Regions from separate parts of the Homo sapiens genome. Here regions 2, 3, 4 and 5 are each linked to region 1. Evidence: promoter capture Hi-C in 16 types of primary human blood cells and fetal thymus (Javierre and others, 2016). All regions are on one chromosome and are shown on one strand. The core of a region is centred on a gene start or on the middle of the fragment in contact, and the rest is flanking DNA. Distances in the headings are between cores, read along the strand shown.

Evidence for each region. The method cuts DNA at HindIII sites, captures the fragments that hold promoters and counts their contacts. A CHiCAGO score of 5 or more calls a contact.
Region 2: a contact is called between a fragment that was not itself captured here and the fragment with the promoter of DTWD2 in region 1, in 2 of 17 cell types (total CD8 T cells and naive CD8 T cells). The highest score is 6.6, in total CD8 T cells.
Region 3: a fragment that was not itself captured here is called in contact with the fragment with the promoter of DTWD2 in region 1 in 3 of 17 cell types (erythroblasts, total B cells and activated CD4 T cells); the score reaches 6.1 in erythroblasts.
Region 4: a contact is called between a fragment that was not itself captured here and the fragment with the promoter of DTWD2 in region 1, in 5 of 17 cell types (naive B cells, total CD8 T cells, non-activated CD4 T cells and 2 more). The highest score is 8.6, in naive B cells.
Region 5: a contact is called between a fragment that was not itself captured here and the fragment with the promoter of DTWD2 in region 1, in 7 of 17 cell types (non-activated CD4 T cells, total CD4 T cells, activated CD4 T cells and 4 more). The highest score is 10.4, in non-activated CD4 T cells.

What each region holds. Positions count from the first base shown.
Region 1 is chr5:118,984,977-118,990,645 of GRCh38, reverse strand. DTWD2 (DTW motif tRNA-uridine aminocarboxypropyltransferase 2) reads left to right here and starts at 2,099. Exons shown (of 6, transcript NM_173666.4): 1 at 2,099-2,352. The coding sequence starts at 2,135. RefSeq lists a silencer at 2,186-2,515. The HindIII fragment of the contact is 4,492 bases long and covers 1,258-5,669 here.
Region 2 is chr5:119,746,754-119,752,422 of GRCh38, reverse strand. No RefSeq gene overlaps it. Among named protein-coding and RNA genes, the nearest start is that of FAM170A, 120 kb to the right of the region's middle. The HindIII fragment of the contact is 2,309 bases long and covers 2,224-4,532 here.
Region 3 is chr5:119,541,600-119,547,268 of GRCh38, reverse strand. HSD17B4 (hydroxysteroid 17-beta dehydrogenase 4) reads right to left here. Exons shown (of 24, transcript NM_000414.4): 24 at 4,937-5,364. The coding sequence ends at 5,275. It also overlaps the pseudogene RPL21P58. Among named protein-coding and RNA genes, the nearest start is that of FAM170A, 85 kb to the left of the region's middle. The HindIII fragment of the contact is 511 bases long and covers 1,844-2,354 here.
Region 4 is chr5:119,521,188-119,526,856 of GRCh38, reverse strand. HSD17B4 (hydroxysteroid 17-beta dehydrogenase 4) reads right to left here. Exons shown (of 24, transcript NM_000414.4): 18 at 1,572-1,641; 19 at 834-940. Among named protein-coding and RNA genes, the nearest start is that of HSD17B4, 72 kb to the right of the region's middle. The HindIII fragment of the contact is 1,033 bases long and covers 2,041-3,073 here.
Region 5 is chr5:119,502,243-119,506,611 of GRCh38, reverse strand. All of the region lies in intron 14 of HSD17B4 (hydroxysteroid 17-beta dehydrogenase 4), which reads right to left. Among named protein-coding and RNA genes, the nearest start is that of HSD17B4, 52 kb to the right of the region's middle. The HindIII fragment of the contact is 4,906 bases long and covers 1-4,339 here.

The DNA of each region.
Region 1 (5,669 bases), core at 850-3,349:
GCTCTCCTTTCTCAACTCTGTGTCTTGCCTGGATGGAAGCTTTCTTTGATTTTGGTCAGCCTCTGAGACAATGGACTTGTAGGGGATTTTCTTCATAAGGAGCGGAGATGGAGCAGGAGACCACTTAGGTCTTTGGCAATATTCTATGCAAGAGATGACGGGGGCTTGAACCAGGGCAGAAGTAGTAGGTGAGATAAATGTTTGGATTTTGAATACTTTGAAGGGTAAAGCCAATAATCTGATATGGGGTGTTAAAAGGAAGCCCCAAGTAAGTAGGCTCACATCAACCTAAAAGGAAGGAGCAGAGGCAAAATTAATATAGAGAGTTTATTTGGGCCAACGTTGAGGACTGTAGCCTAGGTCGTACTTCCAGGTTGCTGTGGAGAGTGCTCTGGAGAACAAAATGGGCTGGAGTTTTTAAAGAAAAGAGAACGAATCAGCAGAGGGGGGCATTACAAAAGCTATGTCTCAGGAAGTGTCATTTATTTACAGAAATAACATTGGTTAGTGATTGGCTATACATATTGTTGAACTATAGGGTATACGGCGTTTTATGGCTACTCGGTGTCAGTCTAGGGCCTGCATAGCAAGTGCCTTCAAGAGGTAATTATTTAGCTCAAGGGAGAGTGAGACATGACTGCTCGCATTCCTTAGATAAAAAGTTTTTTTTTTTTTCCTTATCATCTGTCTTCTCACACCACACAATTGGGAGTCTCAAGGGACCTTAGAGGACTTGAGCACATTTCACCTCTTGAAATTAAAGATGAGCAGCTTCCTTTCGTTTAAAGATAAGTCACATGAGAATTTAATTTTGGCAGTTAAAGAATTGGTTCCCCAACCTAAATCTACAGACAAGATGAATTTTCTGATTCATCTCCTTTCCTACAGTTTCTGGATTTTGTTTATCCTCCGATTCCAAATGGCATAATTGCTAGTTCTTTCTCCCACTCTACGTCCATCACCAGGTGGGTGTTTCAGCCTTTTTCTATCCCTCACATAGGACGCTCCAAAGGAAAAGAGAGGTGCTGTTTCCGGGGGGAAAGAACGTAGGATAGTTGAAAACAGCACGGTATTTTATTCACAAACTTGATTTTAAGATGACTGAAAAATCTAATGTGAAATAAACATTTTAAGAAATACAGTATTTGCTCTATTACTGTGTTGTCTACTTTGCCTCACATTTAATCTATTACAACTATAGAGTTAAGACAACTGTGATTCCTAAGCTTAATTCACATGATTGATCAAAACCAAGCTTAATTCTGTTTTAATGTTGTGTATTGCTGGAAGTAACACAAAGCATTAATAAACAAAAGGAATTCGATACCCATTTTGGGTAAATAGTATTTCTGCCTTCATTCTAACATAGATTTCATTTTGGCTTTTAAAAAACAGCTGCTGTGCTATATACCGCCGTATCCAGTAGTTGTTAAATACCTGGGCAACGTTACCTTTCTAGGGCTTGTTTCCTCATACATAAAACCTATTGGTACCCCGGGCCAGCTCTCCTATTGCTTCCTGATCGGGGACGATCTAAAAATCTAATTTAACAAATATCTGGTGTCCAGTGTAAAATAGCATGCTTGATGTCTTATTAGCACAAGACATAGAAGAGCAGGAAATTCACATAAGGAAACGGACCAGCTGTGAGTAGTTCCCAGTGGATATAACCTCTCCTTTGTTGGCCTTTAAATAATAAGTGCATCAGCTGCCGCACCTGCGATGCATGCACGCGTGGAAATCCTGCAAATTCTTAAACTGCCATCCCAAGGCGGAAAATGCAGAATTCCATTTTATTTTAACTTTTAAAGGAGTTAAATTCGGGCTTGGTACTGGGGTCCTCTCGGGGAGGTTTCCCTTACCTCTCCCAATGACGCTACTTAACCTCACCAGCACTCCAACACTGCCCACACTTGCCTACCCAGTTCTAGGTGAACGGTCCCACTGGGCACGGACCAATGGGCTCGTTCCTTCCCAGCGGCAGGGTGGGACCTCCAGCCTGGGCTTCGGAGACCCGCCCCCCGTACGTGGCGTGCGGGCATTGCGCTACGCGGCGCGGGCCGGTTTCTACAGCGCGTGGCGCCCCCCGGCGGCAGCCGGGCTTCAATGCCACGGCCTGACCGGAGTGTCCGCCATGGAGTCGCAGAAAGAGGCACGAACACTCCAGGAGCCCGTTGCGCGGCCTTCTGGGGCCTCAAGCTCTCAGACGCCGAACGACAAGGAGCGGCGGGAGGGCGGCGCAGTGCCGGCGGCGGCTGCCCTGGGCGCAGAGGCGGACGACGACAGTGCGGACGGGCTGTGGGAGCTGCCGGTGGAGCCGGCCGAGCGGAGGCCTGAGTGCACCCGCTGCAGGTGACCGCGGGGCTGGGGGCGGGGACTGCAGCCGGCAGCGGCCTTCGGAGGAGGGTGCGGCGCCCCCTGCCGGGGAGTCGGCGGCTCGGGCAGCTCTGCGATTAGGGCGGCGGAGTTGGCGGGTGCACGTTGGAAATCTCGGAAATGCCAGGCACAGCTACCTAGTAAGAAGCCCTTTTTCCAGGTTCATGATTATCTAACCTTACTTCCTGCAATATGCTGAGCGTATCATGGGATGAGCAGACATCAGTTCTGTTTCCAAGAAACTTAAGCGTCCAATAGGGGAAGTAAGGGGTGATGACAGTAATACTTGTAAAATAGTTACACAGTCATATTTAAGTGGCATAGTTATATCACAGTTAAAAAGCATAAAGTGGATTGGAGGAGAGAGACAGTCTCCTTTACCTATCCTACCAGAACTCTAAATATAGGGCCTTTTCAGGTGTTCATTCTAGGTTCTCTTCAAACCCTACATACGTCCCACTGGTAATTTATAAAATCAGTTTTCATGGTAAATTATCATCTATATCCCAGTGTGTCTAGCTCAGACCTTTCTTCGGAACACCAGACCTGTGCATTAATTTATCAGGTGTTTATTGAGTGCTTTGGTAATCACTGACAATGCAGTGGAGTTCATGTTTTTGTAGAGTATTCTCTTACTGGATACGGATAATAAACCAGCAAACAAGCAATCAAATATGTAATTACAAACTGGGAAAAAAGCAGTGAAGGAAAGGAATGGGTTGCTACTGTAGAAAATAGCTCAATGGTGTCATGAACTATCTCTGAGATTTGAAAGATGAGAAGAATCCAGCCAGGGGAAAAGCATTCCAAGAAGGGGAACAGAAGGACTGAATATGGTTGAAGATCTTTACTGCTTGAATACTTGGAGTATCACACTTTGGACATTTTGACCTTTTCCTAGGGCTGGATTGTAAGACTTCAGAGGAAAGGATCTTGAATGTAGAATGTTTTTATATTTTCTAAATGTACTATGTATAGTTGACGCTCAGTAAACCTCTGAGGAGGATGGAAAATTTGTGATTAGAAGGGACTGTGAATTTGAACATAGGGGTTTGTGAATACAATTAATTTAAACAAGTCGTCTGAGGGGGTTGGGGAAGCATTTAAAAATGTTTGGAGGGGTCTCAATAGGATACTGGAGGAAAAGTGTTTCAAATATAAATCAAAGGCTAAATTACTGTGCTAGTTTTATTTAGTTTTTAGTCTGTTCAGAATTGTTAATTATAAATATATAGGTAAAAATCTGTTTAGCAGAGATTTATTTTATGATGCTTTTTTAAAAAAATGGCTTGCTGAATTTAATCTTTTTTTCAGTTACGTTTAGTTAATACCTTAGGATTACAATTTTCCCCAACATTTCTGCACTTTGCTTATTTCTGGTGAAATTTGCTACCTGTGAAAAGCTCTCCTCCCTCTTGCTATGCATTTTATTTGCTTTAATTAGGTAGACTATAATTCTACACTTTGCTTATTTCTTGTGAAATTTGCTACCTGTGAAAAGCTCTCCTCCCTCTTGCTATGCATTTTATTTGCTTTAACTAGGTAGAATATAATTCTAGAATTATGGAGAATATTTAGGTGTTGTCAATAAAATATAAATGAATTGATGGCTTTTTATATTTTATTTCATTATGCTATTAGAGTTCTACTAGTACCCTGGGTGAACTTCTTTACATTTATGGTTAAAATAGTTTTAAAAATGCATTCTTAGATTTGATTGATCATTGAGTCACAGTTATTTGGCTATTTACTTAAACTGTATTCATTTCTCTGAACACATTACTACAAATGTCACAGCCTAGGGGAGTTCCAGAAATTAGCTTTGTTCAGGAAGTGCAAACTCAGTTTAACTTTTCAGCAGAATCTTGCTCATTATAAATATAACATATCTTAAATATGAATGGAATATTCTTTAAAAGATCCCAAACTTGTAATTTATTATTGCAAGATATAGATTCTATAAATGTATTCTGTCCTTTATGTATGTCTTGTTTACAAAACCTGCCTGTATTCCATTTACCTCTTAGAATACCTTTCCTATCCCCCATTCCCAAACGTATATAATTTTTTTTTTCAGATAAAGACAAAACCTTGGCTGATCTCCCCAGAGTATGTATCATTAGCATTATTTGAGATAACATAAGAAGGCTGAGGGTCATGGGACATGGTAGGTGCACAAAAGATTTGTTGAACTACTTGGTAAAATTCAGTTGTTCAACAAATATTTTTGGAGACCCTTCTTCCAGACGGTGTGATAGGCTATGAAATACAAAGATGAAAAAGAGATGACTTCAGTTCTCCTGAATATCAGGATCTAGTGGAAAGTGGCATATCTATTTAAATGGGGAGCCCTCAGATTAAAAATCCTATGATGTAGGGCAGTTTTTTCAAATTATAGGTAATGAACCGCATCAAATTTTTGAAGCTCTGAAGAAAACAGCAAAAAGTGTTTTCTGAACTTTTCAAAGTAAAAGTATTTGTAAAATAACTTTGTTCAAGTTAAAATCATCTTGCTAATTTAAACATTCTTATTTAAATTATATGACATCAGAGTGGAAAGATTTAAACACTTTTTATATGTGTTTGATATCCTTTGGCAGTCTTCGAAATTAGGCCGTCGTGGAGTAAGAGTCAGAAGGCAAAAGGATGCATGTTCACCAAGTAGTGCTTCTGAGATTTTACTAGAGTCTTTAATTTTGTTAGGAAATAAAGTGTAATATACGTGTGTATATGTATGTATATATGTGTGTGTATATATATATATATATATATATATATAAAAATGCACATAAGCATGTGGTCTTTTTCTTGTTGAATTCTATACTATCAGCTTCTTTCTTAGATGGGTATATGTAAGGTGTTATAGGAACATATAAAAAGGTGCTCCTAACCCTAAGTTTGTATGGTGGAGATGAGGAAAAGATCTGGGAAATCTTGGAAGTGACATGTAAGCTGAGACTGAAGGACATAACGAAATATTTAATCTGGATTCTAATATTTAGGATTAATTAGGGAAGAGACTGGCTGAGGAGAGGGCTTGAGGGAGGAAAAAGTGAGCTCTGGTTGAGGAAACAGTATGTACGAGAGTTTAGTGTATAGAATATATAGTGTATTTGGGGAGTTTGGGAGAAGGGAGGGAGTGGTGAGAGACGAGGCTGCAGAGATTAGTGGTGGTTGCCCCAGGAAGGGCAAAATAAACTATGTCAGGGAGTTTGGGCCTAATGCTCTATAACCCAACAAGCCAGCCACTGTAATATTTTTATATTTGAAAGGTGGTGACAAGTTTGACTTTT
Region 2 (5,669 bases), core at 2,129-4,628, 760 kb before region 1:
TGCAGAAAAAGTGCCTGCTGCTATGGTTGTATCCACATAAACAAACCAGTTAAGTATCTGTTGAATTGCTGGATACATCAGGCCAAAATTCCAAACTAGTTCCAGCTTTAAATTATTTTACTTAATTGCTGTGGTGACTGATCGATCTCTCAAACTTGTTTATCTGTGTAGACATGACCTATATTATGGCTGAGGTAAAAAAACCAGTAACTGAGAAGTTGACAGCAGCATAATTGAATTCATCAACATAAGAGGGGCATAAACTCTACCATCTCTCAATCTAAGAACCAATTCTCACAGCTCTATCAACTGGTAGGCTGGACAAAATGAAGAATTTCTAACAATATTTCATTATTCTGACAAAAAAATTAGATATGTAACAGCCCAAGAAGTCCTCAAAAAAGCATATTTAAATTTATATATTTATTTATATATATATAAATTTATATATTTACATCCCCAGTGGGGATGTTACCGGAGGGTCCTTGCTCCCAGAGCTCCCCAGACGGTGGTGGGCTGCTTCCAAGATGGTGGTGGGCTGCTTCCAAGATGGCAGCGGGCTGCTTCCAAAATGGTGGCAAGCCTTGTGTTCTCTGACCTGGGATTCTTGGCCGCAGGGATTCAAAGGAATGGAATCTTGGGCCATGCAGTGAGTGTTATAGCTCTATTAGAAGCCGTGGGTCACGGAAGAGAACCGTGGAACCTAGTGACGAGTGTTCAGCTCAATTAGGATGAACCCGGGCACTTAGCCATGCAGGAACAATGGCAAGCCTCTAGCCCGATCGGGAGCAGCAATGGGCGCCTTGCTGGATCAGAAGCACAGCGGACACCCTGCCGGATCTGGAGGGATGGAAGTCGGTGGCGGGTCTGTGAGGGTGGCAAACAGCAGTGGCAGATGGCGAGCGAAAGCTCAGCTCCAGCCGTGACAAACACAGACCAGAAGAGCGTGCAGTTGCAAGATTTAGTAGAGTGAAAACAGAGCTCCCATACAAACGGAGGCGACCAAAAGAGTGTACCCGATGCCGGCTCGATTGCCTGGGTTTATATCCCGATCATTGTCCCTCCAGCTAAACTGTTAGTCAATAGATGACTGGCTATTTCTTTACTTCCTGTTTTTGCCTAATCAGCTTTTTAGTGAGCTCTCTTTACCACCTGATTGGTCGGGTGTGAGCTAAGTTGCAAGCCCCATGTTTAAAGGTGGATGTGGTCACCTTCCCAGCTAGGCTTAGGGATTCTTAGTCAGCCTAGAAAATCCAGCTAGTCCTGTCTCTCAGGCGCAGGCAATACAAAGTCCCTGAAGGGTGAATGAGTATGCTTGGTGTGCGAAGAATAGCAAGGAGGCCAGTGTGACAGTGAAGTGGAGTGGAGTAAAGTGGAGTGGATATGGGAGAGAGTAAAAGATAAAGGCAGAGAGGTAATGAGAGCGGAAGAGGAAATCCCCCTCTTTTTCTTGTTCCTTTCTTTGATTTTATTCTGGTTCCCTAGCACTACCACTCTTAGGGTGGTTATACTACCCCCTTAATTCCACAAACAAATTTACTTTACACAGCCACCGTTTATATCATTGTGCCATTTATGCATAGAAGTTGTTTGGTGTGTTGGATTACTCTGTCTGATAACTGACTTGTCCTGCCAGGTTGGTAGCCCTAAGCTAGTGGATTTTCTTCCAAGAATATGAAAGCAAAATATGCTTCGGTATAATATTGTGTAAAAAATTAATTGTATTTTCTAATATATCAGAGAGACACCAGCTGCTATTAAATAAAACTTCCTGAATTATCACTGTGCTGGCATTTTTTTGTCTGTTTTTTAGAAAAAAGTCTACTTTTTTAAGATTTTTACAAGTCTGCTTTCTACAATGTCTTTTAAATTAAACATACTGTTACATCTTATGATCATTTAAATTCATAATTTTGCTCATCAATCCTAGATATATTGAATTCAGGTTGATAATTTAAGAAATAGTGAACATATTAAAGATCCCCTTTTATTCTGTAACTTTGCTCCTTAAATATTTGGCACAGTGGTACTTTACTTTGGTTTTGCTATTCAGAGGACAGTCTTGATATATGAACATGAAATTTTAGGAAATGTCATGAATAAATGTAATCTAATTCCATTCAAACCACATTTATTGAGTACCTACTATCTTCCATGATTGGTTCTAATATTTCTCAATACAGCAAAGACCAAAACTGCAAATGGTGCTGTCATGATGAAGCTTTTCATTCTATTACGGTTGTCACAATAAAATGAGGAAATGGACATCAAGTAATAATAAATATTTTGAAGGAAAAAGAATAGAGTAAGGGGAATTCATGAGGTTGAATAAAATACTCTTTATATATGGAGGGAAGAAAATTCCTCTTTATTAGAAAGATATTTAAGCTGAGATATAAAAGAAGGAAGAAAGCAAATCAAGCAGTATGAGGGGTAGTGAGGAAGTTCTAGACAGTGGGGACAGGCAACACAAAGGCCCTGAGGGTGAATGAGTATGCTTAGTGTGCAAAGAATAGCAAGAAGGCCAGTTTGAGAGTGAAGTGGAGTGGAGTGAAGCGGAGTGCATATGGGAGAGAGTAAGAGATAAGGGCAGAGAGATAATGAGAGTGGAAGAGGAATGGGGAATAGATCATGTTAGGCATCACAGGACAAAATAACAGTTGTAGATATATGAAGCCATCAGAAGATTTTGAAAAAGAAAACTGTCATCTGCCTCCCATTTTAAAATGCTATATGGAAAATTAGTTTTAAAGACCGAGTTAGAGAAAAGAGATACATTAAGATACTGTTGCACTTCTAGGCAAAAGATGAGGATACCTTGGACCAGCATAGTAGTGGTAGAAGTAGTGAAAAATAATTTGACTTGAGAGAGACTTTGCAGGGAGAATTCTTTAAAACATTGTAGATGGATTATTGCATGTGAAGAATGAGAGAAAAAGAGGTGCAAGGATGACTCCAAAACTTTTGCCTGATCAACTGGAAAAAAATGGAATTTCAGGTACTAAGAAAGAAAATAGAGAAACAAGTATAGAGAAATAATTAAGAATTTGGCTTTGAATAAAATTTGGGATTCCCAGTAGTCATTCACAAGGGGATAGATGTTGAATAGGAAGTTGGCTGTGCAAGTCCAGCACTTGGTATGGGATTTGGACTAAAAATTAGCAATATCAGTATATAGATAATATTTGGTTTGGTTGGAGGAAACAACTCCAGCAGTGACAATTATGAAGAAGAGAGAGGACTAAGGACTGCAGGACTGCATTGAAAACCCTTATTTTTCCATACTCAGAAAGCTGGCAAAAGGTGAGAAGGAAACCCCCAATTTTTATATAATTCAGTATACTTCTTAACGTTAGAGAGCTCTTTTATAGCTATATACAATTGGTAGTTATAATAAGTCCTCTCACTTTCAGAAGAACCAGTACTAATAGAGCTGACACCTAATTTATTTGCTTGCTAAGCATCAGCTGCTAATCCCAGCTGATCTGAATCTGAATGAAATTAGTTTGAGGCAGAGTTGGACTTCACTAAAGGACATTGTGCCTTTGAATGATGTTTTTTAAGATAGACCAAAGGCTCCGCCCAGACACCTGGTGTTTCAGAAATTGATAGGGCTGCTCTACAGAGTAGTTTGATTCCAATGTAAGTTCCTCAAGAAAGCCACAAGCCTGGGATTTCATTATTTAGCCTACCAAGCATCCACTTTTGAAATCAGGACAAATCATTTATTCATTAGTATCCCATTGTAGCAGCCAAGACAGTCCCAATGATCCTAAACTCTTGGCATTAAGACTTTCGTAGTCCCCTCTCACATTGAATAGGGCTGACCGATATAACAAATAAGATATTGTGGAAATATTGGCATATAACTTAAGAGGCTACATCATGAAAGACATCAGAGCATCTACATTGCTCTCTTGAATTACTCAGGGGAAGCCAGCTGCCATGTTTCAAGAACCATCAAGCAGCCCTAGAGAGAGACAAAAACCACTTAGCAAGAAGCTGATGCTTCCTTCTTACAGTCAGTGAGAAACTAACTAAGATTGCCTATCAATAGCCATGTGAGTGAGCTATCTTGGAAGCAAATCCCCAGCCCCATTCAAGCCTTAAGATGACTGCAGCCTTGGCCAACACCTTATCAATACCTTGACTGTTGCTGGGCGCAGTAGTTCATGCCTGTAATCCCAGCACTTTGGGAGGCCCAGTCGGGCAGACCATGAGGATCCGTGTTAGCCAGGATCAAGACCATCCTGGCTAACACGGTGAAACCCCGTCTCTACTAAAAATACAAAAAAATTAGCTGGGCGTGGTGGTGGGCGCCTGTAGTCCCAGCTACTCGGGAGGCTGAGGCAGGAGAATGGCGTGAACCTGGGAGGCAGAGCTTGCAGTGAGCTGAGATCGCGCCACTGCACTCCAGCCTGGGCGACAGAGGGAGACTCCGTCCCATAAAAAAAAGAAAAAAAAAATACCTTGACTGTAACCGCAAGAAACACCCTTAGCCATAACCACCCACTAAGAACACCTGCTAAGCTTCTCCCAGATTTCTGATCCATGGAATCATAAAGGCCTGTTGTTGTTCTAAGTTTACTTGGGAAGCTTTGAAAATATTCATGCTTGGTTTCTATCCCCAGAGATTCTGACTTAATTGGCCTGGGATACGGGCTGGACAACAGGATTGAGTCTATCATCAAAGTTATGGTGTTCAAATAATATGTCACTCAATTTCAGATGAGATATGGAGCCAACCTGACCTACTAGACATTTACTTCTTTCCAAAAGTGAGAGGCAGGGCAAGTATTATATGGGTCATGGTGTTCTAGATGTGGACTCTGCAAAAAGGGTCAACAATGGTGGTACATTTCCCATCATTTGCTGCTAATTCTATTAAAGCACTTTAAAATGGAGACCAAGCCTAAAGAATCCCTGAACAGACAAAGCCAGTTAGGCCCTCATAAGGAACCTTAACCTTGCTTGCTTTGCAAACGTAAGTGAAACTTAACTTGAACTATTTCTTGTAAATGCCTAAGTTAAAGAAAAACAGAATTTAAGCTCGACAAGTCAGAAGCAACCAACAAACATATACTTATGTAACTAGGCATTTTCCAATGGGATACACCAAATAAGGCAACTGTATGACTGCAACCAATCAAATATTTTCTTTGTATTACTTTTGAGTTTGTCCTATAAATGCCTCCCACTTGTATTCTCTCTGTGGATCTCCTGAACCACTTCTGGTTTGAAACTGCTACTCTTGATTCATGAATCACTGTTTGCTCAAATAAACTCTTTAAAATTTTACTGTGCCTCCCTTTACTTTTTAACAATCCATGCAGGGCAAATAAACGTATGGCAGGAGGTACAGAGGAAAATCCAGGTAGATGTGGGCTGTTTTCCACCTGTTCTCAGCTTACATACCACCTAACGTATGCTGCCATATCCCTTCCATTTCATGAGGGATGACCTTAACTATTTCCTTCCTTTCACTCTGACTTCTACTGTATTTAATCCTCCTTGCATTCCCACATGCATACACACTACACACTTACCTGTCAGGATACTTTCAGCAGCAAGTAAAGAAAACCCAACTCAAGCAGCTTAAAAATAAAGAAAGTGTATTCTCTCATATAACACAAAGCTTAGAGGTAATTGAGTGGTTTATTGGCATAATG
Region 3 (5,669 bases), core at 850-3,349, 560 kb before region 1:
CAGAAAAAGAAGCCAAAGACAAAGGTACCTGGATTCAACTGAAGCGCCAGTCTGCTCCACTCAGCGAAGTACACTGTGAGAACCGATGGGAAGGAGCCTGAGCTGCTGGAACTTATTCCCTATGAATTCATGGCATAGTAGGTGTTAAAAAAATAAAAGACCTCTGGACTGTAAAAATGTTTCTACTCATTGAGTAGAAGTGTGGTGTCCTCTTCCCGAAAGAAATATTTAAAGTAAATTTTAATTGTCTTTATCCATTGAGTAATGTCTTTACTATTCCAATTTAATGTATTTCTTGCTCAAAGAGGTGAGGTGGCTTACTGTGGAACATATTACTCAATTGGTTAGAAAACAGCCAGATATTATTTATGAAATATTTGTACTGGTTTGAAGATAGTCCCACTAAATCATCATGGAAGAAATAAAATAATTTACAAAAATTTTTTAAAAATTAAATTTTTAAAAAAAATAAAGCTGACAGTTGAAAATTTTGTTTTCTAAACCAGTGGCTCTCAGCACCTATATCCAGTTTCCACCCTGCAAGCTAAATCCAGTTCCTAGCCTGTTTTTTGTCCAGCTAGCAAACTAAGAATGGCTTTTTCAATTTTAGGTTTTTCTTTTTGTTTTGTTTTTTTTTTAAGAAATACGGTACAGAGACCAAATGTGGCCCACAACGCCAAAAGTCTTTACTGTGTGGCCCTTTACGGAAAATGTATGCTGACCCCTGATTTAACCCATCATTGTTCTTTACTGACAGTCCTGTAACTTCAAGAGATTAAGGTGTATAGAGCTGTTCAACCTCACTTCAAATGACACTTCTTAGTCTGTTTTCTGGGTTAATTTTATGACTTCTTCCATGCTGCCTACAAAAACTACCCCCAGCCAGTGCTCCCTGCAACAACACATGGTTCTTTCTACTTGACTGTTTTTCCATTCTTGTGAGCTGTAGGCTTAAAAGTTATGTAACCAAGCTTCTTAAAAGATGGATTTTGAATGAAGCTACAAACAGATCTTACATGGTTAAATTTTGAATTTTAGTGCCTCAACACTCGGCAATCTCAGGTTATCTTTTTTTTTAAGCTACGTTAACCCTGATGTCTAGAAATCACTTAATTGGGCAACTTCAACCAACATACCATGTATACATGTAATATAAATCTAGACTCATTTTTAGCTAAGGCTTGCAATTTCTGTATTTTGCCTATTTATGCATTGTAAAATAGGTTATTTTCTATCCTCTCCCCTCATAAAAATAGCTTAGTCCACATTGACCTAAAATGTTCTTCTCTTCAGAAAATCACTTTCCATAACTGTCAGCTTTTGAAGTTTCTGAACTTCAGAATTTCTCAGTGGAACTGGATTATCTTTCAGTTTTTCTGCTTTATTTGTTGACCTAACAGGCAAAGTTAAAATGTTGGGGTAATACTATTCAAATCTATTTATTTCCAATGAAAAAAAAATCAGCTTTCTTATTGTTTGCTTTAAAATATATACAAAGTTCTGTGAGAAGTCAAGAGATTATTCTGTTAGGATCGATTGAGAACAGTCTCACACAGGTGACACTTGGAAGGCTTAGGGATATATAGTTTACCTGATGTTAAGGTAAAGAAGCAAATTAAGAGAGCTAAAGAACCTGTGGGGTGGATATTTGAGATATGGCTTTCCAGTCCTCCAAATTTCCTGATATCACACCTGATTTGCTCTTAGGCCATGTGGCTTGGTTGGGGCTGATCCTATCAGTGTAGAAAAAGAGCTAACAAAGCAGACCTTGAGCCTGCTGCCCTTAGAATGCTTCTGAGGTTGATGCCTGGCTGGTATCTGGGAACTTAAATTTTGGGAAGCTTCCCACCATTCCCTCACTGAGTGGCTCTCTGTGCCATGTTTGTACAAACAACGTGGTTTATGCTAAACACCTGCTTTCCTCCTGAGTCTGGAATTTGGGGATGTGTTCAGGTAGAGGAGCCCATGTGAATAAGACCCCAGTAAAAACCTAGGGAACTGACTCTCTAAATGAACTTCACTGGTAGTCAAAGGAAATCACAAAATAGACAAGTAGAAGTCAGATTAACAGGTTCATTAAGAAGTTAATATATTTCTCATTGAAAGGTAAGAAGAATTAAGGAAGATGGGGCATTTGATAATATTAAATATTACAGAAGGGTTAAGGAGCATGACTGATAAGTTGCCAAATTTGGATATGAGTAGTTCTCTGACCATAAATATTGACAGAGATGTGTAAGAAAATTAAAACATAACTTCCTTAAGTTTTAAGTATCTAGGGTATATAATCAACACTTTCATTAATATACAGTGGCATTTATTTTAATATGCTATTTCTATTGGACACGAAAGCTTTCCCAAGCTCAATATAAACAACTATTTAGTACAATAATAGACCAACATTAAAAATACTGCCATTGACTATTCACAATAGCAAAGACTTGGAACCAACCCAAATGTCCAACAATTAACTCAATTAATTCAATTGGTATAACAACAGATCACTCTGAAATAAATTTAAAAATACTATACAGTTCATGAGACAAAGGCATAATTGCCAAAAATATAATTTCTTCCTATGCCTTCTACTTATTCTGTTCACTCATTAAAATAAGTAACATATTGAGGTCTTCTACTGTTCCATCACTGTTCTAAGTATCACAGTTCCAAATTTCTGAAACCTTCTCCCCTGATCCCTGAATTTGCATTCTTGTTTCCTCAAATAAAGTGTGCTGAGTTCTACAAAGCCCCATCAGGATTGAAAGACATATTCCTCAGCATGATACTGGTACAAAACAGACATACTGAGCAACGTAACTAAACAGGGAACTCAGAAATAAGACTGCCCACCTACAGCCATCTGATCTTTATGAAACTTGACAAAAACAAGCAATGGAAAAAAGATTCTCTAATAGGTTTAATAAATGATGCTGTGAGTGCTGGTTAGCCACATGCAGAAAATTGAAACTGGACCCCTTTCTTACACCTTATACAAAAACCAACTCAAGATGGGTTACAGACTTAAATTTAAAAACCCAAAACTATAAACCCTAGAAAAAAATCTAGGCAATAACATTCAGGGCATAGGCATGGGCAAAGATTTCATGACAAAAACGCCAAAAGCAATTGCAATAAAAGCAAAAACTGGCTAATGAGATCTAATTAAACTAAAGAGCATCTGCACAGCAAAAGAAACTATCATCAGAGTGAACAGACAACCTACAGAATGGGAGAAAATTTTTGCAATCTATCCATCTGACAAAGGTCTAATACCCATAGTCTACAAGGAACCTAAACAAATGTACAGGAAAAAAACAACCCAACTAAAAAGTGGGCAAAGGACATGAACAGATACTTCTCAAAAGAAGACACACATGTGGCCAACAAACATGAAAAAAAGTTCAACATCACTGATCATTAGAGAAATCAAATCACAATGAGATACCATCTCATGCCAGTCAGAATGGCGATTACTAAAAAATCAAGAAACAATAGATGCTGGTGAGGCTGTGAATAAATAAGAACACTTTTACACTGCTGGGGGGAGTATAAATTAATTCAACCATAGTGGAAGACAGTGTGGCAATTCCTCAAAGACTTAGAGGCAGAAATACCATTTGACCTAGCAATCCCATTACTGGGTATTTACCCAGAGGAATATAAATTATTCTATTATAAAGGTACACGCATATAAATGTTCACTGCAGCACTATTCACAACAGCAAAGACATGGAATCAACCCAAATGCCCATCAATGATAGACTGGATAAAGAAAATGTGGTAGCTATATACAATGGAATACTCTGCAGCCATAAAAAGGAGTGAGATCATATCCTTTGCAGGGACATGGATGGAGCTGGAGGCCATTATCCTTAGCAAACTAACGCAGGAACAGAAAACCAAACACCGCATGTTTTCACTTATAAGAGGGAACTGAATGATGAAAACACATGGACACATGGTGGGGAACAACTCACACTGGGGCCTGTTGCAGGGGTGAAGGTGGGAGGAGGGAGAGCATCAGCATGAATAGCTAATGGATGCTGGGCTTAATATCTAGGTGATGGTATGAGCTGTGCAGCAAACCACCACGGCACATGTTTACCTATGTAACAAACCAGTACATCCTGCACATGTACCCCTGAACTTAAAAGTTTTAAGGAAAAAAAAAAAGACATATTCCCCCAACTGCTGGGCAAGCCAACTCCAGGAATTGCTCTGCCGCTTTGACCAAGGTCATGGCCCCCTTGCAGGGCAGGTCATAACCAATGACTACTTGCCTCAGGACAATTCTGAATGGCCATCCCAGCTTCAGAGCTCCCCAAAAGATCAGTCCAGGCCTTATGGTAACTGCAACCACAGCCTAATGTCTCCATCTGCCCAGCTCTGCTTCCTTTGCTTCTCCTGGCAGGTGCTGCTCATAAAAGCACCTCCCAAATCAACTTCCTGCACATGAATCTCCATCTGAAAGTCAGCTTCCTGGGAAACTCAGCCCATACTAGCCACCCACACATATTCTCCTCAGCTGTGTTACCTGATTGAAATTTACTCCATCTCTGAGCTTAGCATACCACCTGCTGCTGGTCACCTCTGCAGCCAACTCATCCAAAGAGCATCTCCCAGTGCACTTCATCAGAGCTAAATGCTGAGGAAAACAGTGATGTGGCAGTACTTGCTAGTGACTATCTTTCTGTTTTGAGACTGCTGATTCTTCAAGAAAGCTACACTTGGTAGATTTATAAACATTATATGTAGTAAAGAATTTCCAGCAAAGGGGAGGGGAGAAGAAAGAAAACTATTTGGGAGCACAAAGACTTTTCTCTTGCTTTAAAAGAGAATACTATCAGAACAAAGTATGAAAAATGAGTGCATACATGGAAATTCACATAAAAACTGGGGTATCAATAAATAAAAAAACAGAAAATCACAAAAAAACAAAGGTATCAAAGGCCTTTATTGATTTAATTTTCCTTTCAACTTATCAATGCTATCACAAATTCTAAGGAAACAGGACTTGGGCAAAATTTTTTATTATGAAGATACAGATCTAAGAACAGAAGGATAATTATGTGCTAGCTTATATATAGTTCCTTGTAAAAATAATGATACATGAAAAATTAGTAGAAAATGAAAATCTGCAGTTATCTGATATCTGAAAATGTTAAGCAATTTCCCCTGCATCTTAGTTCTAATCACTTTTGCAGAATAATCAAGCATATTTGGGTGAAGAGAGTATTTAATGATTCCATTTTTATTAATAGTGTAGTGTGCCCTTCAGAGCTTGGCGTAGTCTTTAAGAATCATCTGAAGTTTCTGGCTCAGCATGATGTTCCCTCTGGCCTTCAGCCTGCCACTAAAGAATGCCTGCAAGGAGAGGAGGGAAAAAGAGTGCCAACTGTTACCATGTTATAGTTTATTTCTTTTTTTTTTTTTTAAGATTATTCAGACTGAATACAATTGAGCTAATAATTCTGGACAACAAAGGCAACCTTTATTTAGCAATGACAATTTAATAACTACAGATAGCACATTTTTTTAGACATCTAAAAAAAAGAAAAATCATTCCTGTGTATTTTAGAAAACTATACAATAATTTATCTGAACTCATGGATCTGGGAGTTCTGTTTCAACCTACGTTTCTGGCTTTACTTTATGTTCTTACAATTTGA
Region 4 (5,669 bases), core at 1,308-3,807, 540 kb before region 1:
TTAGGTGAGTTATATAGGTACATCAGAACAACTTAAAGAAACAGTTAAAAGTGGTACAAATTAAGTCTAAGGAATGAGGCCTGGGGTGAGTATGCAGGGCAAAATAATTCCACTTTTTATTTCATAATTTTTTATATTATTTTCTCTGTGTATATATTACTGGATAATAAAAAATAGTTGTAACAAAATGAAAAGCATGAGAGTAATTAGTGTTATCAAAGGCAATGCATCAGAAAATATATTTTCACTACTGCATGGAGGATAAATTAAAAGCTTTTGGAGCTATTTGACAACCCCTTAAACTTTTTTAAGTGTACATCTTTTGGCTTAAACATACACAAAAATAATATGGGCATGGATATTTTTCCTTGTTATTTATAATGGATAAAAATTTGAAATCAACTAAAAAGTACAGAGTTAAAACAATATGCAGTCATTATATTGCTGTAGATGTATGTTTATTGGACTTAATCAGCCACTTAACATTTTTAATTAAATTAATGAAAATGATAAAACAGTTAAAAAAAGCAAATCTTGAGTTTTCAAGGCATACGTACTGATATATATATATATAATATATGCACCTAATTAATTTATAAAGCAACCCAGTTAATCTGTCAAAATTGCAACTGTGCATCCTTCCTGGTGCATGTGCAACAGAGCTATTTATAGCTACAAAAAGAAAGTGTGCTGATTGCCAGGTCAATGAAATAATAAAAATGTACATTGCTGTAGTACAATATCTATTTTCAATTAAATCACTAAAACCCCTTTTCTTCTCTAAAGATAGAAAAAGGAAGTAATATTCAAATTACGTAGTAATACACATTTACCTTAATTGCCTTGAATCTTGACACATCATTATCTGCAAACTGCTGTAACACACGCCTGGCAGAAAATCCAAATGTACATAATCCATGTAATATGGGCTTGTCAAAACCTAGGAAAAGAGAGAACACTGAGTTAGATACAGGTACCTTTAAAGTTTAAAAATCAAGTGTAGTTAATTCAGGACTTTAAAAATGTCCTTAGACTGCATTAGCAGGAATTATACCATCTATTTTAAGAAACACAGTAGATATTTTTTAAAGAGTATTTCCTGGGAGGAAATTATGAAATAAAGAAAGAAAGAAAAAAAAAAAACAAAACAGGAAAAGAATGTGAGAGATCTGGAAACACAATTGTTTTGTTTAGTTTTGGTTGTAACCATGAAATCATCCAGGGTACTCTCAACATCCACACAGGTACATGATCCTTCCCTAACCTTTCAGTTCCTTGCTCTCTCTCCAATGACCTTGTCCTTTGTGATAACTCACACACCCACCCTCGTGGTCCTATCCTAGACCTCGCACTAGCGGGAACTTCCCTCCACCATAATCTGAATTTCAAGTGCACTATTTTCTGAACACATTTCCTACCTTTCCATATCCTTTGCATAAATGTAATAAATAAAATAACATTTTTTTAAATGCTACTCAAACTACCAGTCATAAGTAGTAGTGTCTTTACATTATTTAATTAAATATCGAATAGCTAATATTTTTCATTGATACATATTAAAGACAACTCACCTGCTAGACTAGCAAAGTTAGGATCAATGTGTAAGGGATTCCAGTCTCCACTGAGGCGGTACAAAGCAGCCTGTGGAGAAAGCATAAACATAACTAGAACTCAGTGTTTTGTTAGAATACATTAAATGAAAAATAGGAAACATGGCTGGTTATTGGTATAAGCATTGTATCATAATGTACCTGAGGCTCTGATTTTAAAAATAATTATTTTTAACAATAAAGATTACCTATAATGAAATGTTTTTTTAACACTTGCCACTAAAATCAGTGGGAGGGAAAAAAATGTAGAAAGGGAAGCCAAGAATTATATTTAGGTAAAACACTGTTACTACTACCTAAGGAGAAATTCACAAAAAGAAGTCAGTCAATCTACTCCCATTTATACACAGATAAGGTAAATGTTTATAGTCTGCTCTAAGCAAGCAAAATTTATGCCAACTTTCTTACTGGGGTGTTTTAAATTGAAGCTTCTAAGACAATATCGGACATAGAAACATCAAAGACTTCTCACTAACTTTCATTCTGCTGGTACACTAAATCCTGAACATTAGCTCACCCTGCAAGAAAACTGACTGAACTGATAGCTTGCTATTATGATAAAAGTTCTGCTGAGTCCAGATTTCCACATCACTAGTTTACTTAGATAAAGTAGGATTAGCAGCGTGGCCTGGATAACAATAGGGAAAAAGTCACCATACTTTCTGGCGTTTAAATGGTACATTCTTCCAAGTTAGAAAGCACTTACCAGCACTGAAAGGAAGAAATTCACCAAACAGCTAATAGTAAGTGTATTTAATGTATCTGTAAACTTGACCGACCCTTTTAGGTCAGCCTCAAGACTTCTTCCCTTTCTCATTAATTGCTGTGCTGTTTTCCAAAGACTACTGAAATGCTGTGTAAAGACTAGCCATATCTTTTTAAAATTACTGATCTTTTATTACTTTTAAACTACTGATTATTTTTAACAAGTTTTATTTATAGAAAATATTCTATAATTCATAAGAAAGCATCATTCTTTTTAATATGCTTTGTATAATTCCAATAAGCTCTTTTCCTTCCCCATGACTCCATATAATGGTTCTATAGATTATTTACTTTCCCAATGACTCAATATTCTTTCCTTTACATGTCTTCTTAATATAATGAAATCAAATAAACAATTATTGAATACTGGTGACTTGCAAGGTCCCATATGAGATGCTAAGAGAAGTAAATGATAATTTTTTAAAAGCACTTTATATAATAAAATGTTAGCAAATATATATCATGATGTATACAAATGAAAGAAAAACACATTTCAGGGCCTGAAATTGTGACAGGAAATTATCAAACACATGCTAGATCATGGGATTTGGTACTAGTCAGATCTAGATTCAAAGCCAGCTCTACCATTAATGGGCAAGTTTCTTCACCATTCGAAGCCTCAATTGCTCATTTAGAAACATTTAGAGGCTAACAGAACTTACTCTCACAGAGTAGTTGGAAAAAGGTGGGATAAAGCTTACAAGGTATTATCTTTGATAAATAATACCTCAATAAATGTTAGTTATTTTTTAAAGATTATAGCAACAATACAAACAACCAAGTTTCTAAGATTAGTACTAGTATTCTTATCCCACATATATCATTCCTATAAATGAATACAGTGTTCTGAAGAAATCGTATTAATATGAAATATCTCACATTATTTCAATGATAGCATTGCTTTCTATAGATAACAGAGTTAAACGAAGACAAAAAAGGTTCATTATGAGAAATGACAAAAGCCAACTGACTAGATGTTTGACCCATTCAATCATAACACAAAATAAGCATTGTTCAATTAATAATGACCACTGCCAAAGCTTATCTTCTACGTATTTTGAAGAAATGGCATATTTCAGAAGGAAAGCTAAAAGTTTCTTGTTTCGTTTCATTTCTGCCTGGAAATAAGTCATTATAAATAACAACCACCAAAAAAATAAGAAAAAGAAAAATAGCTATATATTATTTTGCATATTAAAAGTAGGTGGGAGGATAATCTGCATACAGGTAAACTATTCCTTAATTTGATTTTTTAAAATTGTACCATTAAGTTAAACTAAATGCTAAATAAATAGGCTCAGGAAACTAGTGCTTTTTAAGTCCTCATATCCTCGAAAAAAAAAATACAAATAATGAGAACAAATAAAACTACACAAATCTCAAGCCTACAGTGTAACTAGAAGACAGAGAACACTGCAGAGTTCAAATTCCAGTAAGTCTCAAAATAAACACCACTTTTCTATCAGTGCTAACTTTTGAGCACCCTCTGAAAGCTACTGCAGAGTGGCAGGGCTTGGGGGGTGCAAAAGCAGTGCATGGAAGAGGGAAAAGGAAAATCACTCCCAGATAAATCCATCTTAAGGGCAAAAATACTGAAATGAATCCTGGAAGATTACAGCACTGACTACAATGAAAATAATTAATAGTACACTAGTCTTCCAGTGGCAATTCCAGAAAGGTATCACTTTCGGGGAGAACAGAATAAAACAAAGATATCACCTTTGGAGACTGGATGAAGAAAAAAAGAAGCAAGAGAGGAAATTAATGATCCTGAAAGATAATTTATTTTATTTTTAAAAATAAAACACCTCCCCACAGTGCCCCTTCTTTAAAGCCACCCACTAAAGAAATTGCATGTTGCTACACAGAGAGAAAGGGCAATTTTGAACTAAGAATCTTGGAAACCACCCCAAACCACAAAACGCACAGAGGTAAATATTCTTCATCTGTACAACACTAACATAAAACTAAAATTGCAATTCCTCAGGGATCTAGAACTAGCAATACCATTTGACCCAGCCATCCCATTACTGGGTATATACCCAAAGGATTATAATCATGCTGCTATAAAGACACATGCACACGTATGTTTATTGCAGCACTACTCACAATAGCAAAGACTTGGAACCAACCCAAATGTCCAACAATGATAGACTGGATTAAAAAAATGTAGCACATATACACCATGAAATACTATGCAGTCATAAAAAAGGATGAGTTCATGTCTTTTGTAGGGACATGGATGAAGCTGGAAACCATCATTCTCAGAAAACTATTGCAAGGACAAAAAACCAAACACCACATGTTCTCACTCATACGTGGGAATTGAATAATGAGAACACTTGGACACAGGAAGGGGAACATCACACACCGGGGCCTGTTGTGGGGTGGGGGAGGAGGGAGGGATATCATTAGGAGATATACCTAACGTAAATGACGAGTTAACGGGTGCAGCACACCAACATGGCACATGTATACGTATGTAACAAACCTGCACATTGTGCACATGTACCCTAGAACTTAAAGTATAATAAAAATACATATATATTTAAAAAAAAAAAACCAAAACTGAAAATGCAAAACAAAACCTTTTAGTAAATAAAATCCACCCCCCCTCCAAATAAACAAACTGCCAAACAGAAGAAAACTGTAACAAAACACTCAAGCATTTGGGGATGTAAAACAAACACTCTGAATCCAAAATCCAAAAACTAAGAAAATAAATGGATGACATACATGAAGAAATAAATAAGTAATGATTAAATTCAAGAAAGAAATGGAAAGAAAAAATCAAAATCATATAAGAAATGAAGACTAAATTATAAGGTACCCAAAGGAGAACACATTCAAATAAAAATTAAATAAGGGGATGGCAGAAAGGGCAGAAATGAACCATGAGAATGAAAATGAGATCAAGAAGCAACTAAAAAAGAACAGAAGAAAAGTAGTTGAAAGACATGAAAAGATTCAACATACATATAAATGGATACCCAAAGAAAGAAAAGCAAAACAGTGAAAGAGAACTAATATTTAAAATTTTAATACTATAAAACTAAAAGACATGAATATACATATTAAAAAGGCCCACCAGGTATATAAGGAAGACTGACCTGCAACATGCAAGACTGAGACATATCCCAGCAAAACCATTAGACTTTAAAAACGAAAATAATCTTGAGGGCCTCAGGGTAAAGATCAAGTAACTTACAGGGGAAGATAATTAGATTGGCATCAGACTTTTCAAAGGCAACATACAAAGTAAGACAACAATGATGCACCATTTTTAAGAAATAA
Region 5 (4,369 bases), core at 637-3,136, 520 kb before region 1:
CAACCACTGTGGAAGACAGTGTGGCGATTCCTCAAGGATCTAGAACTAGAAATACCATTTGACCCAGCAATCCCATTACTGGGTATGTACCCAAAGGATTATAAATCATTCTACTACAAAGACACATGCACACGTATATTTATTGTGGCACTATTCACAATAGCAAAGGCTTGGAACCAACCCAAATGTCCATCAATAATAGACTGGATAAAGAAAATGTGGCACATATACACCATGGAATACTATGCAGCCATAAAAAAGGATGAGTTCATGTCCTTTGCAGGGACATGGATGAAGCTGGAAACCATCATTCTCAGCAAACTATCACAAGATCAGAAAATCAAACAACGCACGTTCTCACTCATAAGTGGGAGTTGAACAACGAGAACACATGGACACAGGGAGGGGAACATCACACACCGGGGCCTGTCAAGGTGTGCAGGACAAGGGGAGGGATAACATTAGGAGAAATACCTAATATAGGTGACGGGTTGATGTGTGCAGCAAACCACCATGGCACGTGTATACCTATGTAACAAAACTGCACATTGTGCACATGTACCCCAGAACTTAAAGTATAATAAAAAATAATAATAATGTTCCTGAACTCACTAGAAAAAATAATTCAACAGTAAAAGCAGTCAGAATACCGGAATCGCTAAATTTCAAACATCAATATTTGATACATTAGATTTTTTTAAATAACCATTGGCAATGTCAAGGACTCCTCTTGGTGTCTTTTGACCCTGTTATTCAACAAACATTTGTTGAGCATACAACCAATACTGTTTACCCCATTCTTTCTTAAATTTCTACTCCTATTCAACACAATACTGCAACTCCTACCCAGAGCAATCTGGCAATAAAAAAAAAAAAATGTTAAGACATCCAAACAGGAAAAGAAGTCAAATTATCTCTCTTCACCAATGATATCATTCTATACCTAGAGAACACTAAAGACTCCATCTACCAAAAGGCTCCTAGAACTGATAATGAGTCAAGTAAAAGTTTCAGGATACAAAATCAATGAACAAAAAAGAGTAGCATTTCCATACACCAACAATATTCAAGCTGAGAGCCAAATTAAGAATGCAATCTCATTTACAATAGCACAAAAAAATAAAATATCTAGGAATACATCTAATCAAGGTGGTGTAAGGTCTCTACAAGGAGAACTATAAAACACTGCTGAAAGAAATCAGATAACACAAACAAATGGAAAAAACATTCCATACTCATGGGTTGGAAGAATCAATATTGTTAAAATGGTCGTACTACTCAAAGCAATCTGCAGATTCAATGCTGTTCCTATGAAACCACCAATGTCATTTTTTACAGAATTAGAAAAAACTATTCTAAAACTCATATGGTACCAGAAAGAGCCAGAATAGTCAAAGCAATCCCAAGTAAAAAAAAAAAACAAAGCTGGAAGTATCATATTAACTGACTTGAAACTATACTATAAAACTACAGTAACCAAAACAGCATGGCACTGGTACAAGAAAAGACCAATGGAAAAGAACAGAGAACCCAGAAGTAAACCCACACACCTACAACCATCTGATCTTTGACAAAGTTGACAAATATAGGGAATGGGGAAAGGACTCCCTATTCAATAAACGGTGCTGAGATAACTGGCTAGCCATATGCAGAAAAATGAAACTAGACTCCCACCTTTCATCATATACAAAAATTAACTCAAGATGGATTAAATATTTAGATGTAAGACCTCAAAGTATTAAAATTCTAGAATAAAACATAGGAAATACCATCCTGGACATCAGCCTTAGGAAATAATTTATGGCTAAGTCCTCAAAAGCAATTACGATCAAAACAAAGATTAACAAGTAGGACCTAATTAAACTATGAACAGAGTAAACAGACAACCTAAAGAATGGGAGAAAATATTCTCACACTATGTATCCAATAGAGGTCTAATGTCTAGAATCTATGAGGAACGTAGTTCAACAAGCAAAAAACAAATAATCCCATTAAGAAATGGGCAAAGGACATAACAGACACTTCTCAAAAGAAGACACACAAGTGGCCAACAAACATAAAAAAAATGCTTCATAACACTAATCATCAGAGAAATGCAAATCAAAACCACAATGAGATACCATGTCACATCAGTCAGAATGGCTATTACTAAAAAGTCAAAAAAATAACAGATGCTGGTGAGGCTGCAGATAAAACAGAACATTTATACACTGTTGGAGGGAATGTAAATTAGTACAGCTACCATGAAAAGCAGTCTGGAGATTTCTCAAAGAACTTAAAACAGAACTACCATTTGACCCAGCAATCTCATTACTGGATATATACCCAAAGGAAAAGAAATCATTCCACCAAAAAGACATATGCACTCATATGCTCACTGCAGCACTATTCACAATAGCAAAGACATGGAATCAATCTAGGTGCCCATCAATGGTGAAATGGATAAAGAAAATGTGGTACATATATACCATGGAATACTACGCAGCCATGAAAAAGAACAAAATCATGTGCTCCGCAGCAACATGGATACAGTTGGACGTCATTATCCTAAGTGAATTAATGCAGGAACAAAAAACCAAATACTGTGTGTTTTCACTTACAAGTGGGAGCTGAACTCTGGGTACACGTGGACATAAAGATGGGAACAACAGACAATGGGGACTACTAGAGTAGGGAGAGCAAGAACTGAAAAACTACCTATTGGGTACTATGCTCACTACCTGAGTGATGGGATCATTCATATCCCAAAGTTTAGCATCACACAATACACCCACGTAATAAATCTGCACAGGTACCTCCTGAATCTAAAATAAAAGTTAAAATTCTTTTTTAAAATAATAAAGTTTATATAAAACCAAAAAAAAAAAACAGACAGAAAAGAAAGTACTGCTGCGTTCCTTCACTCCTTCTAGTGGTTATTTTTAACATGATTAGGGTAAGTCAGCCTATGACACTACCACTATAGCCAACAAATGAGCCATTAAGAGATGTTGTTATCAGTCTCCTGATGCTTGACACTCTGTGTCTCATCAATTGGTGTGTTTTATAAACAGTAGTAGATTATAAACAGTAGTCGTGACCTTGGTTTTCTGCAGTTTAAAAGGTTCCAAACCACAAATATCTCATATTTTGAACATTCACATTTACTACACAGTAAATTTTAAAACTGCTTAAAGAAAATGCACAGGCTGAGAAAAAATAATTCATGAGAAATATAACTTGAGGCTAAGGAGGTAAAAAAAAATGAAAAAGTTATTCTCTACACCTTCCTATTCACATCACTGTTCAGTTATCATCACTCTGGAGTATACATCTAATCTCTCTTTTCGTATTTTAAAATCCCTAACGGCAGAAACCTATCTTGCACATTTCTACTTCCCTTATAACAATGGTTTCCAAGTGGACCCATAGGGCTGGGTACATATGAAACATGTAAGGAGCTTCCTAGCCACTGTCACCAACACCACCACCCCACCACATACATACATGCACACATACACACACACACACACACACACACACACACACACACACAATTTCCAAGGTTGGGATTGAGAATCTACATTTTACTTAAATTAACAGATAATATAATGTAATAACTCGGGTGATTTTGATATACAGACAGGTTAGAAAATTACCTACTACCTAATACTGTGCCTTGCAAATACTGGGTATCCAGCAGATATTTGATCAATGCACAATCACCACAAAGTGTACTGTTTCACATAAAAAGAGCTGTTTTGAAACCTTATGCTATAATACTTACACTGAAATAAAGCTATTCAGCTTCAAGCAATAAAAATCTCATACATTTTTTAGAAAAATAAAAAGGTTTAAGAAAAATATTCAAGTAGGATTCTAGCTACTTGCCGACCTCTACATTGTATAACATGAAATGACAAATATTAACAAAACATTCCTTTTTGTATTCTACCACCTTATATGACCAGTATATAATTAGACAACATTCAAACATCAAAGTAGAGAAATAAATATATCCAATTATAGTGAAAAAAATTAAAAGAGATTTACTAAACAAGTAAGATATTTTTGAGAAAAGTAAAAATGATTATTAAAGACTTGTTTTTATTTTCTCCAAAAAAAAAGAAAAAAATGAATTACAAGAAATTCTGTATCTTTTAACATTGTTTGCTTTATGAAAATCAGTATAAAGATAAATACCTGAGAAAAGAACAATAATCATAAGAACCATAACAGATTATATGCAATCACTAAGTCTAGAGCACATACACGAACGTTCCTTTCAGTTGTTAATAACACATACATCAACAGAGATAAATTATGAAATAAATTTTTAAGACTATTAAAGGACAAAGCTTAAGGTGACCAAAACAGATACTAGTTAACA